Linked DNA regions of Homo sapiens: region 2 is linked to region 1. Evidence: promoter capture Hi-C in human tissues and cell types (Jung and others, 2019). All regions are on one chromosome and are shown on one strand. The core of a region is centred on a gene start or on the middle of the fragment in contact, and the rest is flanking DNA. Distances in the headings are between cores, read along the strand shown. Region 1 holds the start of B3GNT4 (UDP-GlcNAc:betaGal beta-1,3-N-acetylglucosaminyltransferase 4). Region 2 has its middle 13 kb from the start of IL31.

What was found. Contacts are between HindIII fragments. The study calls those that stand out against the background at their distance.
Region 2: a fragment that was not itself captured here is called in contact with the fragment with the promoter of B3GNT4 in region 1 in 2 of the 25 tissues and cell types used here (dorsolateral prefrontal cortex and small bowel).

Annotation. Positions count from the first base shown.
Region 1 is chr12:122,202,276-122,205,028 of GRCh38, forward strand. It overlaps B3GNT4 (UDP-GlcNAc:betaGal beta-1,3-N-acetylglucosaminyltransferase 4), which reads left to right and starts at 1,434. Exons shown (of 3, transcript NM_030765.4): 1 at 1,434-1,526; 2 at 2,247-2,409. The coding sequence starts at 2,344. It overlaps LRRC43 (leucine rich repeat containing 43), which reads left to right. Exons shown (of 12, transcript NM_001098519.2): 12 at 1,040-1,196. The coding sequence ends at 1,167. RefSeq lists a silencer at 1,119-1,748. The HindIII fragment of the contact is 16,495 bases long and covers 1-2,753 here.
Region 2 is chr12:122,159,845-122,162,672 of GRCh38, forward strand. No RefSeq gene overlaps it. Among named protein-coding and RNA genes, the nearest start is that of IL31, 13 kb to the right of the region's middle. The HindIII fragment of the contact is 8,474 bases long and covers 1-2,828 here.

The DNA of each region.
Region 1 (2,753 bases), core at 184-2,683:
AGTCAACTGCTTGCAATATGTTGCTGTAATTGACGTGCACAAAGAAAATCCAACCTCAGGCCCATAATTGGAAAAGAGGGAGTATTTTAATAGACCTTAAAATAATATAATTTCTTTAATATTACACCAAATTTGACAAGTGGTAATTTCTTAAAGGTTGTTACAATGTGAAAACAATCTATATTGAATTTTTCATAATCAGATTAAAATTCATTAATCTAGTTTGCATTTTGAACGGATATTTTACCATGCAGTTTGTAACATGCATGAGTTACTTGTAAACTACAGGTTAACAGACTTATGCAGATATTCCAACAGTTGACACCTGTCACTATACATTTTCCAAAGATCACGTTCTTTACTATCACCACCCACATCATTAGAAAGGTCTTTGCGTATTGGAAAATTGGTAAATTCATGGTGGCAGATACAATGTTGTCTCATTTTTAGGGCAAATGTTATACATTTATTGAAATGCTTTCAGTTGTTTCCCCTGAAGTGCTATAATTACTTCATTTTTAAGAAAATATCTGCAGCTGGGCTCGGTAGTGTACGCCTGTGATCCTAGCACGTTGGGAGGCCTAGGCAGGCGGATCACTTGAGGTCAGGAGTTCGAGACCAGGCTGGCCAACATGGTGAAACCCCGTCTCTACTAAAACTACAAAAAATAGCCGGTCGTGGTGACAGGCGCCTGTAATCCCAGCTACTTGGAGGCTGACGCAGGAGAATCGCTTGAACCTGGGAGGCGGAGGTTGCAGTGAGCCGGGATCATGCCACCGCACTCCAGCCTGGGCGACGGAGCACGACACTGTCTCAAAGCAAAAAGCAGCCAGTCTTGCAACTCAAACAGCTGCGATTTATTAAATGATCTAATTAAATACAATTTAATTTTATTTCTTATTACTGTTAACACCCGAGGACCAAAACTGTGCTCCCGCTGGGACAGGGTCCAGGGCTTGCATATGGGATGGGTCAGGGCGGCCGAGAACGCCAGCCCATCCGTCTCCCGGGGCTCATGCTCGCACTTAAATTTTCTCAGAAAAGCCGAAAGCCGTGATTCCGATCTACGAAGGCGATTACCACCCTGAGCCCCTGACCGTAGAGGTGCAGATCCAGCTGAACCAGTGCCGCTCGGCGGAGGAGGCTCTGCGCATGTTCGCCGTGTAGGGCGTGGGCAGTAAAGGCTGTTCCCAGCACTCCCGCCTCCGCTTCTGTCCCGCCGCACGCGTCGGGGGGCGGGTGTGGCGCCGGCGTCCTGGGGAGGAGGAGCAGCCTCTGCCCGACCCGGCTCGTGCGGACCCCAGGACCGGGCGCGGGACGCGTGCGTCCAGCCTCCGGCGCTGCGGAGACCCGCGGCTGGGTCCGGGGAGGCCCCAAACCCGCCCCCGCCAGAACCCCGCCCCAAATTCCCACCTCCTCCAGAAGCCCCGCCCACTCCCGAGCCCCGAGAGCTCCGCGCACCTGGGCGCCATCCGCCCTGGCTCCGCTGCACGAGCTCCACGCCCGTACCCCGGCGTCACGCTCAGGTAGGTTGGGGGCCGGGACGCCGCTGCTGTGAGGGAGGCTGGGTCACCGTGCAGGGAGGGGCGTCGCCAGGGCGGCCGTGCCTTTGCACCCCGCGGCCCGCTCCCCGGTCCCCCAGGGTCCCCGCGAGGACGCCGGCCCCGCCCGGGTGCGGCGCGAGTCTGGCCTCGGCGGGCACGGCTCGGGGCCCACGGGCCGCTCGGCTTCGGTTCTCCAGGCTGGGGACAGAGGCTGGAGCCGGGCGCGGTAGACCCCGCCAGCCTGGGCCGCCCGCGCCCGACGCGCAGCGCTGCTGCCAACCCCGGCCCGGGGGTCCCCGCAGAGTGGGTCTCTGCTGCCGTCAGCCCTTCGGAGACTGTCGCGTTGAAAGAATGAACCAGAGTTCGCCCCCTGCCCGCGCCAGGGCGTTTTGGGTCACCGAGTCCTGTGGGGATCCGAGGCGGCTGCCGCCCAAGGCCGAGCGCAGCCTCAGGACCCGCGCCCCACCAGACGGGGTCGTGCGCTCCGCGGCGGGTGGAGAGCCGGGCTCTGGGGTCTCCGCGGCTCGGAGGGCGGCGGGGCGAGGCCGTGCGGCCAGCGCCTGGGGACGCCCGCGGCGGGACAGGGGCCACCCGGGCCGCGGCGCAGCCTGGGCTGAAACCTCCTGGGACGGAACCAAGCCACCTGCTGTGCGCCCTTCTCGGTGAATGGCACCGCCGCCCGCCCGGGCCTCTCGTCCACAGCCCGCGGTGCTCGCACACCTGAGACTCATCTCGCTTCGACCCCGCCGCCGCCGCCGCCCGGCATCCTGAGCACGGAGACAGTCTCCAGCTGCCGTTCATGCTTCCTCCCCAGCCTTCCGCAGCCCACCAGGGAAGGGGCGGTAGGAGTGGCCTTTTACCAAAGGTCAGATTCTTTCACCGCCTCTGCCAGACCCCCTTGTCCCCCACCCCCGCATAGATCTCCAGGGGGCTCAGAAAACTCTGGCCGGTGGCTCACGCCTGTAGTCCCAACGCTTTGGGAGGCCAAGGCGGGAGGATCGCTTGAGGCCAGGAGTTCCAGACCAGCCCAGGCAACAAAAGATACCACATCTCTACAAAAAATAAATTAGCCGGGCCCTGCACGCCTGTAGTCCCAGCTACTGGGGAGGCCGAGGCCGGAGGATCGCTTGAACCCAGGAGTTCCAGGCTGCAGTGAGCTATAATTGTGCCACTGCACTAGAGTCTGGGTGACAGAGACACTGTCTCAAA
Region 2 (2,828 bases), core at 85-2,584, 43 kb before region 1:
TTGGGATCTTGAAGAGCCTCAGAATTGTCATTCTAAGTATTCCTTCTCACTATAAAGTACTGTCATTTTGGGTAGTGCGTAAAAGGGCTGAGAGAAATAATATTGCATTGGTTTTACTGCAAAATTGGTTCTACAAGGAGTCACGCCAGGGGACTGCTTTGTCCATTCAGCGGGGAGATCCGAAGAGCAGATAAAGAGCTGGGGACAGTGGAGCTGAGCCTGGTGTCAGAGATGGTTGAGAAGAAACACCAATGTCACAAACCCACTGCTACAGTAAGACACCTGGGGGTGCTAAAGTCTTTTCTTACCTTATTACCAACACTTGGAAAAGCCTTCACACCTCTCCATTTCTCACCTTCTCTCCAAGTGCTATTTCTTTTTTAAAACTTGAAATCATGTTTATTTGACTGATTTCTAAAATAATACATACTAACTTTAGAAAATTTGGAAAATACATTAAAATATAAAGAAAATTCTTGGCCAGGCATGGTTGCTCATGCCTGTAATCCCAGCACTTTGGGAGACCGAGGTGGGTGGATCACCTGAGATCAGGAGTTTGAGACCAGCCTGGCCAACAAGGTGAAACCCCATCGCTACTAAAAATACAAAAATTAGCCTGGTGTGGTCGTGGGCACCTGTAATCCCCGCTACTCAGGAGGCTGAAGCAGGAGAATCGCTTGAGCCCAGGAGGCGGAGATTGCAGTGGGCTGAGATCGCACCACTGAGATCAAAAAGAAAAAACAAAAAAAGAAAAATTCTCCCCCTGCCCAAAGATTTTTTTTTTTTTTTGCCAGTCTTGCTTTCTGTCTATATGTAAGATAGGTGGACACACACACACACACAGACACTTTATTTTAAACTTATATTTTAGGTTCAGGGGTACATGTGAAGGTTTGTTACATAGCAACATGGTATGGTTAGGCTTTATGTCCCCACCCAAATCTCATCTGGAATTGTAATCCCCACGTGTCTAGCGAGAAGCCAGGTGGAGGTGATTGGATCACGGGGGCAGTTTTCCCCATGCTGTTCTCGTGATAATGAGTGAGTTCTCTCTGATGGTTTTATAAGGGGGCGCTTCTTCCTTTGCTCACCACTCTCTCTCGCCTGCGGCCATGTAAGAAGTGTCTCTTCCGCTTCTGTCATGGTTGTAAATTTTCTGAGGCCTCCCCAGCCCTGCAAAACTGTGAGTCAATTAAACCTCTTTTCTTTATAAAATAGCAAGTCTCGGATATGCCTTTTTTTTTTTTTTTTTTTTGGAGATGGAGTCTCGCTGTCTCTCCCAGTCTGGACTGCAGTGGCACGATCTCAGCTCACTGCAAGCTCCGCCTCCCGGGTTCACGCCATTCTCCTGCCTCAGCCTCCCGAGTAGCTGGGACTACAGGCGCCCGCCACCACGCCCAGCTAATTTTTTGTATTTTTAGTAGAGATGGGGCTTCACCATGTTAGCCAAGATGGTCTCAATCTCCTGACCTTGTGATCCACCTGCCTCGGCCTCCCAAAGTGCTGGGATTACAGGTGTGAGCCACTGTGCCTGGCCCCAGGTATGTCTTTATAGCAGTATGAAAATGAACTGCCAGGCGTGGTGGCTCATGCCTGTAACCTCAGCACTTTGGGAGGCCAAGGTGGGTGGATCACCTGAGGTCGGGAGTTCAAGACCAGCCTGACCAACATGGAGAAACCCTGTCTCTACTAAAAATATAAAATTAGCCGGGCGTGGCAGCACATGTAATCCCAGCTACTTGGGAGGCTGAGGCAGGAGAATCACTTGAACCCGGGAGGCAGAGGTTGCGGTGAGCTGAGATGGCGCCACTGCACTCCAGCCTGGGTGACAAGAGCGAAACTCTGTCTCAAAAAAAGAAAATGAACAAGTAAACTTGTGTCATGGGGGTTTATTTATACAGATTATTTCATCACTCAGGTATTAAGCCTAGTACCCAACAGTTATCTTCTCTGCCTGTTCCTCTCCCTCTTCCCCCCCACCCTCCTGCCCGCCTCCACCCTCCCCCTCCAGTAAACCCCAGTGTCTGTTGTTTCCTTCTTTGTGGTCATCGGTTCTCATCATCTAGCTCCCACTTATAAGTGAGAACGTGTGGTATTTCGTTTTCTGTTCTTGCGTTAGTTTGCTGAGGATGATGGCCTCCAACTCCATCCGTGTTCCCCCAACAGACATATTTTTTAACTCAATGGGGGATCGTCATAAATATATTTTATAACCTGCTTTTATAAATTAACGTCATACTTGAAGCATTTTACCCTGCCAGTAAACATTCTTTGATAAAATGACTTTGAGCGGCCACTGTTTGTTCATTGCCTTATTTTCAGTCATCGGGGTTGTATAGCAGCCGTGAAAGTGTGCCCCTCAGATTTCCCACTCTGGGAAGTATAATTGACCCAGGGCCCCCAGCTGCTGTGCCCGGAAATCCATCACCCAGCACATGGAGACCCCGCTTCCCGCAGGCTTCTCCCATCTAGAGACAGCATGGCAGGGATGCTGAGGCTGGCTCGTTCCTGGGAGACCCAGGCTTCTCTTAGGATTTTCCCACATTCGTGCTGAAGTCTCCCAGGATGGCACCGTAGGCTGAGACGCTGCCCCCAACCTCCTTTCCTTCCTTCATCCTGTCCTCCAGCAAGAGTCAGACCTGCCTGTGGTGGGACAGCTCCCTGAATCCCCTGCTCCCTCCTCTTTTCCCTCCCAGGCCTGGCTCTGATGAATCTCTTTATTTATTTAGTATTTTTTCAAGACAGAGTCTCACTCTGTCACCCAGGCTGGAGTGCAGTGGCGCCATCTCTGCTCACTGCAACCTCTGCCTCCCAGGTTCAAGCGATTC